Linked DNA regions of Homo sapiens: all the other regions are linked to region 1. The links are contacts of gene promoters, found by promoter capture Hi-C in blood cells and fetal thymus (Javierre and others, 2016). All regions are on one chromosome and are shown on one strand. The core of a region is centred on a gene start or on the middle of the fragment in contact, and the rest is flanking DNA. Distances in the headings are between cores, read along the strand shown. Region 1 holds the start of MORF4L1 (mortality factor 4 like 1). Region 2 holds the start of TBC1D2B (TBC1 domain family member 2B). Region 3 holds the start of SKIC8 (SKI8 subunit of superkiller complex).

Region 1 (4,377 bases), core at 1,097-3,596:
GGGAGGCGGAGGTTGCAGTGAGCCGAGATCTCACCACTGCACTCCAGCCTGGCGAAAGAGCGAGACTCCGTCTCAAAAAAAAAAAAAAAAAAGAATGCAACTGAACAATATGTACAGACCATTTATGGTTAAAAAAAAAAAATGGAGAAAAATGCACACGCCAAATGGTGGGAAGGTAAATGGGGGGAGCGGGGAATAAACATGTTCCTTAAGTTTTGCCCTGTATTTTATATTTCTCAATTGTTGCATCATGAGCCCAAATATTTGAATATTACCTGTGTAATTAACACATAAAGGCAAATAAGTTAACTTCAATACAAAAGAAGAAATAACACAAAGAGGGTTCTAGGATAAAAAAACTCATGGATTCCCAAACAACTCATAACAGTGGGGGAACTGGGCAGATGAGGGGTGGAGGTGGGAAAGAGACTTTCACTATTTTCTTTTTTTTTTTTTTTTTGAGATGGAGCCTCACTCTGTCGCCCAGGCTGGAGTGCAGTGGCGTAATCTCGGCTTACTGCAAGCTCCGCCTCTTGGGTTCATGCCATGCTCCTGCCTCAGCCTCCTGAGTAGCTGGGACTACAGGCGCCCACCACCACGCCCAGCTAATTTTTTATATTTTTAGTAGAGATGGAGTTTCACCGTGTTAGCCAGGATGGTCTTGATCTCCTGACCTCGTGATCCGCCTGCCTTGGCTTCCCAAAGTGCTGGGATTACAGGCGTGAGCCACCGCGCCCGGCCCACTATTTTCATTTTTGTATTTTTAAACGTTTGGATTAAAAAAGTATGTGCAGGCTGGGCGCAGTGGCTCACGTCTGTAATCCCAGCACTTTGAGAGGCCGAGGCGGGTGGATCACCTGAGGTCAGGAGTTCGAGAACAGCCTGGCCAACATGGTGAAACCCCATCCCTACTAAATATACAAAAATTAGCCGGCCATAGTGGTATGCGCCTGTAAACCCAGCTACTTGGGAGGCTGAGGCAGAAGAATCGCTTCAATCTAGGAGGTGGAGGCTGCAGTGAGCTGAGACTGCACCACTGCACTCTAGCCTGGGTGACAGAGTGAGACTTGGTCTCATAACAACAACAACAACAAAAAATTGGCTGGGCGCAGTGGCTCATGCCTGTAATCCCAGCACTTTGGTAGGCCAAGGCAGGAGGATCATAAGGTCAGGAGATCGAGACCATCCTGGCCAACATGGTGAAACCCCATCTCCACTAAGATACAAAAAAGTAGCTGGGCGTGATGGCACACCGAGTCCCAGCAACTCAGGAGGCTGAGGCAGGGGAATCGCTTGAACCCAAGAGGCAGAGGTTGCAGTGAGCTGAGACTGTGCCACTGCACTCCAGCCTGGCTACGGAGCGAGACTGTCTCAAAAAAATAATTTAAAAAAAGTACGTATTTTATATTCAATAAAAAATTTAAAAGTGTACAGGACAGTTTTGGTGGGGTGGGGTCCAAAGAAGCCCTTGTCCCTTTTTACAATTTAGCAATGGTGTCCAAGGGAGTGAATACAGTCATGGGTTCTTAGTTTCTGTTTCTGGTTGGGCCAGTAAAGCCCCTTCCTCATCCCCCTTTTCCACTTATCACTAGAGACTGAAACTAAAAACCATGGCTTCAGGGTGCTAAAAGCCTAAACAAAACAAAACAAAACAACAACAAAATAAGACAGGTTGGACAAGCTTGCGAGAAGTAGTCGTGACAAGATGGTGTATATTCAACTGGAATAAGGAAGGTTTTTGTGGGTTTCTGTTGTCAGAGAAGGGGTTGTGTTAAAAAGACTGAAGGAGAAATGGAAGTCAGATAAATGGAGAGGGGCCCGGAATTGGTGGGGTGTGGAACCCGGGCAGGGGAGGGCTTAGAAAAGCCATGGAGACAGGCTGGGCGCAGTGGCTCACGCCTGTAATCCCAGCACTCTGGGAGGCCGAGGCCAGCGGGTCACCTAAGGTCGGGAGTTCAAGACCAGCCTGACTAACATGAAGAAACCCCATCTCTACAAAAACACAAAAATTAGCCCGGTGTGGTGTCACATGCCTGTAATCCCAGCTACTCGGGAGGCTGAGGCAGGAGAATCGCTTGAACCTGGGAGGCAGAGGTTGCAGTGAGCTGAGATCGCGCCTTTGCACTACAGCCTGGTTAATAAGAGGGAAACTCCGTCTCAGAAAGAAAAAAAAAAAAAAGAAAAGTCATGGAGACAAAGGTTTGCGTAGGAGGATAAAGGTTTACATAGGGGATGCAGGTAGGCTAAGGGCTGTTTGTGGAAGGATTTAAATACCAGGCTAAGGACTTTGAGATTTATCGTCTAAAGTTCATTGAGCACTTATTCATTGTTGGGTACCGCGCTAAGCCCGTATATGTAATTCTCACAATAAACTGACGGAAATGGTGCTATTTTGCAGCTTAGCCAACAAAGTTGTTTTTGAACAGGGAACGACATAAATCCGTTTGTTTAGGCCAGGCACGGTGGCTCACGCCTGTAATCCCAGAACTTTGGAAGGCCAAACCGGGCGGATCACGAGGTCAGGAGTTCCAGACCAGCCTGGCCAACATGGTGAAACCCAGTATCTACTAAAAATACAAAAATTAGCTGGGCGTGGTGGCACATGCCTGTAATCCCAGCTACTCCGGAGGCTGAGGCAGGAGAATCGATTGAACCTGGGAGGCGAAGGCTGCAGTAAGCAGAGATCGCGCCACTGCACTCCAGTCTGGGCAACGGAGCGACACTCCATCTCAGAAAAAAAAAAAAAGGTATAATATTGAAGAAATCCGTTTGTTTAGAGTGACAAGAAGCACAAACAGGGCAGGTACGGAATACAGACGTTGACATATTCACACTAGCCTTTTTCAGAAAGCAGAGCTCCATTATCTCAAAAAGCTAAAGCGTGACTAGTGTTTCCCACGTCATCATCCTCATTTCCGCAAGGCTGGGCTGGAGAAGAGGAGGTAGACCTAGGAGCCAACAAATGGCTATCAATCCCACCAAATAGGCTCCGCAGTGGGGTTGCTAAACAACGAAGCTTCCAGAAGCGGACCCCAGTTCCCACCCTCTTGCTGATCCTAAAGCCTTTCTATGCAAAAACTAGCGGAATGCTATTGAATGTAGGTTTCCGAGCCAGCCCTATTCTCTCCGACTACTTCAACATCAACGGGGGCTTATTTGCCCAAGGGACGTCGCAACTGGGCCTTTCCCATTCTATTATCACTGGTGGCTCACCACCCCCACTCTCCCCCATCGCCAGCTCCGCCTTAACCTCCCACGAAATCAAATCCCCGCTTTACCAACCCGCAGCAGCCGGGGGCATGGAGAGAGAAGCGGGGGTGGGGTGGGGTAGGGTAGCCGGCCCCTCCCCCACCCGGGGGGGGGGGGGGGGCGCCTCCACCGACTCCGAACTACCAGTCCCGGCGTGCCCTGGGGCGGCGCGGGCGCAGGGGCGCGTGCGCGGCGGGCTGTCGTTGGCTGGAGCAGCGGCTGCGCGGGTCGCGGTGCTGTGAGGTCTGCGGGCGCTGGCAAATCCGGCCCAGGATGTAGAGCTGGCAGTGCCTGACGGCGCGTCTGACGCGGAGTTGGGTGGGGTAGAGAGTAGGGGGCGGTAGTCGGGGGTGGTGGGAGAAGGAGGAGGCGGCGAATCACTTATAAATGGCGCCGAAGCAGGACCCGAAGCCTAAATTCCAGGAGGGTGAGTGTGCGCCTTTGGGAAAAAGGCACCTAACGGCGCAGGAGATAGAGGCGGGCTCGAGGTGATTGAGGCTTGAGGGCCGGGGGCGGCGCGGGCTGCGCCCTGAGAAGGCGGCGGTCAGTGCTTTGTGCGGGGAAAGCGCATTGCGGATGGCAATTCCGGTGCGTCATTGTGAGAAAGCGCTTTGTGAAGCGAGAGTGCTGCGCAGGCGTTAGAGTGGGAGAGAGAGCGTTTGGCGCGTGGCACACCCTCGTCAAGTGTTTGTTATTGTTCTGAGGAAGAGGGCGCGGAGAGAGCAGCCTATTGTAGGGAGGCGACGGGAGCGCCATGGCGGCGGTTAGGGGAAGTGATGTGGCGGCGGGGGGGGAGGGGCGGTGGCTGTTTCGGGCGGTCCTGCGGCGCGCCCGGCCGCTTGGGCAGCTACGACGGGTTTTTCGGTGCTTCCTGGAGCCCCGGGGTGGTTGCGTTCGGTGGCAACTCAGCTGCGGATGGGGGTGGGTTTGGCGCCACGGGGCGGGAGAAGTGCGTTGTAAAATGGCCGTTGCAAGATGGCGGCGCCATCATGGCCGCCGGCGTCTCGGTCCCGTATGGAGGCACAGCTTACGGGCAGATGCAGCGCCCCCTTCCACGACGACCAGAAGGTTGCCGGGGCCCTCCGCATACCACAGAGTGGTGGGTGGGGACAGAAAAAAAAAAGTGAG
Region 2 (4,377 bases), core at 648-3,147, 790 kb before region 1:
AAGCTGAGTCAGCAAAGCTCTAAGAACATCTCCAGGGAGCAGCTCCAGCTGTTAGCAGCTCTGGGGGTCTGAGGAACAGTCCTCAGCTCACAAGGCCAGGAGTTTGCCTAGTCTGCTCTCCGTGTGGCCAGCTTTGAGAGCACTTTCATACATCCCAGCCCAACCCTGTTGCTCTGGAGAAAGCCCAACCTGGAATACGGAAGAGGAGTGAGAGTGAGGGTGGAGACTCACAGAAACCAGGCAGGGAGCAAAGCCTGGAAAAAGGATACCCAGCTCCAGGCCTGGGCCCAGATCCCTCCAGATGCTCAAAGCAGGTGGGCCCCTAGGAGGTGACAGTCTAGTCCCCCAGAACTCCCAAGGACAGGGGAGGCCTTTCAGCACCAGGACTCCTGACTCTACTCTCCTGCTTCTACACTGTATCTCTCATTTTGTCTGTCCACTGGAGGATTAAGGGAGCCTCAAAGGAGCAAGGCATAACTGGCTGAAAAGACCCCCTCCCACCCATCCTGGACAAAGCAAGGAGGAAGAACACAGGATCTGCCACCTACTGGCTGTGTGACCTTAGCTGGAGCATCCCCGTCCACTCTGGAGGAAAATGTAGTGGACTGTCTCTAAGGGCCCTGCCATCTGACTCTTTCTGTCTACAGTGCTAAATGCACTCTGGCTCACGCCTGGCATCCCAGCACTTTGGGAAGCTGGATGGGGAGGATGGTTTCGGCCCAGGAGTTCGAGACTAGCCTGGGCAACATAGTGAGACCCCCGTTTCTTTAAAAAAAAAAAAAAATTTAATTAGCCAGGCGTGGTGGCCCGCACCTGTGGTCCCAGCTACTTGGGAGGCTGAGGTGGGAGGATCTCTTGAGCCCAGGCATGGAGGCTGCAGTGAGCCGAGATCGCACCCCTGCACTCCAGCCTGGACAACAGAACAAGATCCTGTCTCAAAAAGAATAAATAAACAAATAAATAAAAGCACTGACATTTACTGAGCAGTTTAAAGTATAATTCATTTAATCCCAACACCCCATGAGGTAGATACTACTGTTATCCCATTTTACAGAGGAGGCCGCTGCAGCCCAGAGCGGTTCACTGAGGTACCAAGGCCATAGGCAAAGTTCTAAAGGAGGCCCCAGGGGTAGAAGCCTACGCTCACGGATGCCTGGGAAGGCTGCACAGGACATCCACGGGATGGTGGGGGTCGGGAGACACCAGAGACTGGCCCGAGGTTAGGCGCAGAGGGAGATAATGGGTCAAGGTGTCTGAGAAAGGAGACGGGGCTTGGTAGCCCCAGCGAGACTGGCCTAAGCCCAGATAGTGGGGAGGAGATAGGAACGAGGGCGGGATGTGGAGAAGCAGGGAAAGGCAGGCCGACGTGGGCAGGGGCGAGGAGGCCTTGGAGGAAGGAGGGTGGATGGCGCAAGCCAGTGGCGGAGGCAGGGGACGCCGGCGGAAGCGCGCGGGCGGCTTTGGGGCGAGCGGTCCCACCTTGAGCACCGTGACGGCTCCCGCGCTGTGCACCTGGAAGTGCGCGGGCGGCTCCGTGCCCGGCTCCGCCGCCTCGTCGGGGCCCTGGTAGCTGAAGCAGGCGTCCGCGATGTCCAAGTGGCCGAGGGGCAGCGCGTCCTGCGGACTCTTGAAATAGTAAAGGTAGCAGCGGCGCGCGTCGAACACGAACCAGCGGCTGCGGTAGCCACGCAGGGGGCCCTTGCCCGACAGCTTCTGCAGATAGCCACACAGCCGCGCTGGCTCCCGCGCCGGACCCGCCCCGGGCTCCGCGGCCGCCCCCTGCGCCGCGCCCTCGCCGCCGCCGCCGCCCTCCTCCGCCCGGGCTCCGGCCCCCGGCATCGCTACCGCGCGCCAACCGTAGGCGCCCGCGCCCTGCGCCTCCGCGCCGCGGCCGCTGCGCCCCCTACCCCCTCCGCACCGCCCCTTCGCTCCGCACGGCCCGCGGGCGCGCAAAGCACCCTGGGACTTGTAGTCTCGCCCCCGCCCGCCCGCCGGCCGTTGCCCCCTCAGCCCCCGGAGGCAGGGTCCTGCGACCAGCACCCCGCGGGTCAGTTGCCTTCGTGCCACCTGGGCTCCAAGTCCTCGCCCTGCCGGATGAAGCAATGGTCTATTTCTTTATGGCAGTGTAGGTACATGGGAGTGTGCATCTCTCAAAACCCAGCGGAGTGTCCGCTTAAAACTGCATTTCACACTGTGTATCTTATTCTAAAAACTTGATATTTAAATCTCCCTCCTGCCAGAGTCTCAAGCTAATATTGTAAAAATGAGACAGCCTATTGCCTGGTGCTGAGTGGGTGCTCAGTAAATATTTGCAGAATTCATGAAAGCCAAAGCGTTTCCTGCCTCTCCAGACCTCAGTTCATTTATTGAATTCAACATATATTTATTGAGCGCCTTCTGAATGCCGGGTACGGTTCTGTATGCCAGGCCCTGGCGGATACAGCAGTGAACAAACCAATCATTCTCCTGCCCTCGTGGAGGTTATATTCTAGTAAGGCAGGGAGGTGACACACAAGAAAGCAGATAAAAGTAATGTGTGCTATGTTGTATAAATGCCGTGATGACATGTAAATGATTACCGCTTAAAATAGCACCTAGTATTTATCAGTGCTTTATAGACTAACTTATTTGAACACTCACAACCTGAGAAGGCAAATCTATTGCTTTGTAATAAAGCAAAGAGAAAGAATGAATAAGACCAAGTATTTGCTAGCACAACAGGGTGACTACAGTCAAAAATAATATAATTGTACGTTTAAAAATAACCAAAAGAGTATAATACAGACGCGGTGGTTCACGCCTGTAATCCCAGCAGTTTGGGAGGCCGAGGTGGGTGGATCACCTGAGGTCGGGAGTTCGAGACCAGCCTGACCAACATGAAGAAACCCTGTCTCTACTAAAAATACAAAATTAGCTGGGCGTGGTGGTGCATGCCTGTAATCCCAGCTACTCGGGAGGCTGAAGCAAGAGAATCTCTTGAACCCCGGAGGTGGAGGTTGCAGTGAGCCGAGGTTGCGCCATTGCACTCCAGCCTGGGCAACAAGAGCAAAACTCTGTCTAAAAAGAAAAAAAAAAGTATAATAGGATTGTTTGTAACACAAAGGATAAATGCTTGAGGTGATGGATACCTTACTTACCCTGATTTGATTATTATGCATTGCATGCCTGTATTAAAATATCTCATGTAACCCATAAATATATACACCTACTATGTTCCCACAAGAATAAAAAATAAGTAAAAAGCAAAGTGAGAGGATGAAGTGATGGGGGGCAGATAGCAGGCTGCTGCCCCAGGACAGGCAAGGAGGCTGGTCTGATCCTGTGACATGGAGCACAAACCCAGATGATGGGAGGGACAGGGGCAACCAGAAATGTGGGTGAAGCATTCCAGGGAGAGGGAATAGTGAGTACAAGAGCTCACTTTATTCAAAGGAAAAAGGAAGTGTATAGCTACATAGCTACATTTGTGAAAGCCCAAACCAAATATCTCACCCTCATAGATTTGCATGTTTTATACAGACACACTGAAAGACCCAGGTGGAAAACTGACCTTTCTGAGCTGGACAGGGACACAAATTAGACTGCCTGTTTGGAGCCACCCAGGTAGGAAGGGCAGGTTCTGGGTCCTCACCCAGCCTGCCGACTCTCTGCAGGCCCTAAAGTGGCACCACGCAAGCATTCCTTTCCTGGGGCCCATCAGAGGTGTGGCTGACCTCTCCACCTGTCTTTGAGCACAATCAGCACAGTGTTAAGGACTGGGCTCTGACTTCACACTGACCAGATGTGTCTCCTAGCTCTGCCACTTACCAGAGGCATGACCTTGGGCAAGTGATTTAACCTCTCTGGGCCTCAGTCTCTTCATTTATAAAACAGGGTTGATAAATACAAGTAGCTATCTCGTGCTGTTGTTATTGAAAGGGTTACGTGAGAAATGCATATGAAAGTGCTTAGCACGGTGCCTCACACATAGTAAGCACTCAGCACATATCAGCTGTTATTATTATCATCTTGCAGTTAACACCGATGTCTTCCTCATCAGTCAGCAGATTCGGAGAGGGGGAATCCAACAGTCAGACCGGGCCCAGACAAGGGAGGCCAGACACTGCGGTGCTGCGGGAGTGGAGTGGGCTGCTCTCGGGAGCAAGGGGTCCCAAGTTCAATTTGGGCCTCACCATGTATGTAAAAGGGGCTGTGACTAATTGGCTTGTGGGGTAGGCAGTCAGGGTGAGGTCTGACCTTGAAATACTGTGGGAAAGGGAAGAGCTGGGAGAACCCGGTCTGTATTGCCATGGTACAGGGAGGCAACAGGACAGGGGAGGGTGTAGCCCATCTCTCCTAGATCTATCAGTAAGTTATAAGGAAGTGGGGGTGGCCATG
Region 3 (4,377 bases), core at 603-3,102, 570 kb before region 1:
TTGGCAGTTTAAGGGACCACACAGTTAAGGCATCCAGGTTCAGGTTACTTTCTTTAAATCTGCCAGCCTAAAAAGCTGCCGAAGGTTTTCCAATAACAGGAAATCAAACAAACAAACAATTTATAACTAATCCTTGCCTATGAAGATCTCAAATTGGTAGTGTTTTGTTTTGGTTTTGTAAAGACAAGTTCTCATTATGTTGCCCAGGCTGGTATCAAACTCCTGGCCTCAAACGATCCTCTTGTCTTGGCCTTCCAAAGTGCTGGGATTACAGACAGGTTGGTAGTGTTTTATTCATTTGTGACCCATGAACAGGGTTCTTTCTGCCCAGGGTAGGAAAGACAGGAAAGTGCTCAAGCCAGTTTGGCTAATGGGAATGGTATTCAACCTCTGCTTCAGCACAGCCTTCTGCCTGCTGAAGCACAGGCTTGTCCTCTTCCCTGTCATTCTGGGCCTCACATTTGGCAATGGATAGAAACAAAAAAAGGAGGAAGGCTTGCGGTAAGCCAGCTTCCAAAAACCCGGGCTCCAAAAGACAAGGGTGTGATTCTATCAATGAGTGCACATTTGAGGATGTACAATGAATCCGGTCCTATTTTAAGTAATACACAAAGATTTAGCTCACTGAAACCTCATAACCCCGCTTACTAGGTACAGTAGTTCTTTAGCTGAGGTTTTGATTTCCACAGTTCCAGAGGTCAACCGTAGTCCAAAAATAGGTGAGTAGAGTGCAGTAAGATATTTTGAGAGAGACCACATTCACATACATTTTATTACACTGTTATAATTCTATTTTATTATTATTGTTGTTATTCTCTTATTGTGCCTAATTTACGAATTAAACTAAGTAATCACAGGTATGTATGTGTAATCTGTATGAGAAAAAACACAGTATAGATGCTCCTCAACTTACAATGGGGTTACTTCCCAATAAACCTATGTAAAGTTGAAAAATTGTAAGTCAAACCACGGTAAGTCAGTCAGGGTCCTTCACTATCCAAGATTTCAGACATCCACTGGAACGTACACCCCGCAGATAAGGGGGGAACTACTATTTTTTTATTATCAGTTCCACTTTTCTAGTAAGAAAAGGGAGGCTTAGAAGCGGTTAAGGAAGCTTCCCCAAGGGACACTAAAAGGTGGATACAAGCTATAGTATAGGCTACCAAGATACACTACCTCTTACTTCAGGGTCTTATGAAGGTCAGAGCTAAGAGACTTTAGACCTTAGCCCTCTCTTGCCATCTTCTCTCTTTGGGAAACTTTTCCCTAAATTTCCTAGGCAGAATTCATCACTGACTCAGTGTTTCCAAGGAACACTACAGATGCCTCTATGAAACTACTCAGGCAAGTCAACAGCCCACAGTATTGCACGGTACTTGGCGTAAAGCGAACCCAGCCTCTGTCTGTACCCGTCCAGTGATGTCTGTATCTGTCCAGCACGCTACCTAAGACAGCGTGGCCCACTACTGGAAAACTTCGGTTAATACAGCCCTCCCAGCTACGGATAAATGATCTCCTCCGCAGAGAAACCAGCCCTAATCTCGATACTGCCCAGAACATTCTCAGGACGCAAAAGGAGGCCACCCACGGGCCTCCCCCACTCCCCTCAGGCCCCGTACACCGAGGAACAGCCAGGGCAAATGGAGCCATGGAAGCCACCCTCAGGCCCCAGGGCCTGGAGCATCCCTGAACGGACCTGCTTACAGGCAGCCTCGGGCCCAACCTCGCTCACTCGCCCTCTGGCCTGGACTGTCAACGGCCCTAATGACCCCAATCCCCAACGGCCCTGCGCTCCAACTCACCACTGCACTGCCAGGCTGCACGTCGGAAGCCGGGCTCCGCGCGACTGCGACGCGCAAAGATGAGCTATCGAAGGGGCGGGGCATCGCGCCGGCCCCGCCCTCACGGCTCGGAGCACTCCGCAGCGCCCGTTGCCGTCGCTATGGCGGGCGCGGGGCAGACGCCGACGAGGGTGGGCGGAGAGAGGAGGGAGGAAGCCAGGTCCTGCTTCCAGAGGAGTGGTAGTTGGAAATTTGCTTCCGGAAGCGCAGACGTTTAGCTTCCGGCAACTGCAGGTTTAGAGGTTTGTGTTGCAATTTCATTTTGTACTTTTGAGATTGGACTAAAGCTAATAACTTCTGTTGCTGAAATAAATTCAGTGAAATCGAGCTTTGTCTTTCAAACTGCTAGTCATGACCCATTAACGTGACAGATATCAGTTTAATAGGTTGTCAACTGACTTTTTTTTTTTTTTTTTTTGAGGGCCAGGCAGAGTAGCTCACGTCTGTAATCCCAGGACTTTGGGAGCCGAGGTGAGAGGCTTGCTTGAGCTCTGGGTTTCCAGACCAGCCTGGGCAACATAGCGAGAGACCTCGTGTCTACTAAAAATAAAAACAATTAGCACATGCCTGTAGTTCCAGTTACTTGGGAGGCTGAGGCAGGAGGATCGCTTAAGCCCTGGAGGTTGAGGCTACATTGAGCCGTGATGACGCCACTGCACTCCAGCCTGGGGAACAGAACTAGACCCCGTCTCAAAAAAAAAAAAAGAGATGGGGCTGGGTGTGGTGGCTCATGCCTGTAATCCCAGCATTTTGGGAGTCGGAGTGGGTGGATCACTTGAGGTTAGGAGTTTTGAAATCAACCTGGCCAATATGGTGAAACCCCGTCTCAAGTAAAAAAAAAAAAAACAGAAACAAAAACAAAATTAGCCGGGTGTGGTGGCATGTGCCCGTAATCCCAGCTACTTGGGAGGCTGAGGCAGGAGAATCGCTTGAACCCTGGAGGCAGAAGTTGCAGTGAGCACAGATCACACCACTGCACTCCAGCCTGGGCAACAGAGTGAGACTGTCTCGAATAACAACAACAAAAAAAGATGGGAAGAGGCTCATGCCCCATTATGGAGGCCGCCCTGTGGCTCAGATGTGGTGGCTCACTCCTGTAATCCCAGCACTTTGGGAGGCCAAGGGGGGAGGATTGCTTCTGGCCGTGATTTCAAGACCAGTATGGGCAACATGGCGAGACCCAATCTCTACAAAAAATTTTAAAGTTACAGACGCAGTGGTGTGCACGTGTAGACCCAGCTGCTCAGGAGGCAGAAGTGAGGATCACTTGAGCCCAGGAGTTTGAGGCTGCAGTGAGCTATGATTGGGCCACTGCACTGTAGCCTGGGTGACAGAGTGAGACCCTGGCTCTAAAAAATATTTTTCGAAAAAACTAGTTTTGAAGTTCAAATATATATATAGAGAGAGAGACGGAGGACTATTAGACCACTTACAACTAGGTGAAGTTCATCTTTGGGGGCTTTTTTTTCTTTTGAGACTGAGTCTTGCTGTGTCACCCAGGCTGGAGTGCAGTGGCGCAATCTCGGCTCACTACAACTTCTGCCTCCTGGGTTCAAGTGATTCTCCTGCCTCAGCCTCCCCAGTAGCTGGGACTACAGGCACCCACCACCACACCCGGCTAATTTTTTTTTGTATTTTTTTTTTTAGTAGAGACGGGGTTTCACCATGTTGGCCAGGCTGGTCTCAAACTCCTGACCTCAGGTGCTCCACCCACCTCTGCCTCCCAAGTTGCTGGGATTACAGGCATGAGCCACTGCACCTGGCCATCTTTGGGGGCTTTTTGAGGAGGCTATGTGTGGTGAGAAATTGGCAAATACACCCACATCTCCCAGGACCTATTCTCTTGTCCTCAGTAATCTCACATTAACACAAAAGAGAAGACATCCTGCAGCTCTTCTGCTGCACACATGACTTCCCTGCATGCCAGCATCCTTAACCCTCAAGTTCACATGTTTCAGAGTGATATGACTAATTTTTCTCAGTCACATTGACTGGAGAGCTATTTCTCTCCTTCCCAGCTCTGTGACATCTCTGTCCATAGAAATTTCATCCAGCCCCAGTGGACCCTCTGCATGTCACTGGCTTAAAAAGTTTGGGTCAAAGTGAGCAGACTTCAAGACTGAATTGTCAAAATTCTTATGTGGCATCTCTTATAAGTCAAGATATCCTTGTAACCATTCTGGATCTATTGGACCAGGGTCAGGCATGTGCCCCTGAAGCTAAGGAAGAATGTACAAATTATATCATGAAGCCAGTGAGCTGATTTTCAAACTTAGATTGACTTAAGTGCTGACTGGTGTTCGGGCACATTCCACAGAGCTAAATACACAGAAACTGACCCTGCAATGGCTGGGATGTGGGTTCCTGAAGTGTGGAAAGGAATTAACATTAGTACTACAAAGCAATGGCTTTTAGCAGTTAAATGAGTGACCTGCTGCCTTCCTGTATAACCAGTTGCCTTAGTTTTGGCCAATCTGCTGCTTTGTTTTTGTTGGTGACATTTACGGGTTTTTGTGGGTTTTGGAAATAGATT

What was found. Contacts are between HindIII fragments. The CHiCAGO score rates a contact against its expected background, and 5 or more counts as called.
Region 2: a contact is called between the fragment with the promoter of TBC1D2B here and a fragment that was not itself captured in region 1, in 1 of 17 cell types (activated CD4 T cells). The highest score is 5.3, in activated CD4 T cells.
Region 3: the fragment with the promoter of SKIC8 here is called in contact with a fragment that was not itself captured in region 1 in 5 of 17 cell types (fetal thymus, non-activated CD4 T cells, naive CD8 T cells and 2 more); the score reaches 12.3 in fetal thymus.

What each region holds. Positions count from the first base shown.
Region 1 is chr15:78,869,382-78,873,758 of GRCh38, forward strand. It overlaps MORF4L1 (mortality factor 4 like 1), which reads left to right and starts at 3,509. Exons shown (of 12, transcript NM_006791.4): 1 at 3,509-3,676. The coding sequence starts at 3,637. RefSeq lists silencers at 3,281-3,540, 3,951-4,010 and enhancers at 4,096-4,377, 4,121-4,360. The HindIII fragment of the contact is 1,335 bases long and covers 1,680-3,014 here.
Region 2 is chr15:78,075,814-78,080,190 of GRCh38, forward strand. TBC1D2B (TBC1 domain family member 2B) reads right to left here and starts at 1,898. Exons shown (of 13, transcript NM_144572.2): 1 at 1,480-1,898. The coding sequence starts at 1,839. RefSeq lists silencers at 1,374-1,573, 1,774-1,983, 2,134-2,183. The HindIII fragment of the contact is 13,244 bases long and covers 1-4,377 here.
Region 3 is chr15:78,297,757-78,302,133 of GRCh38, forward strand. SKIC8 (SKI8 subunit of superkiller complex) reads right to left here and starts at 1,853. Exons shown (of 11, transcript NM_025234.3): 1 at 1,806-1,853. RefSeq lists enhancers at 1,051-2,018, 1,571-1,920, 2,019-2,985, 2,161-2,250. The HindIII fragment of the contact is 6,178 bases long and covers 1,116-4,377 here.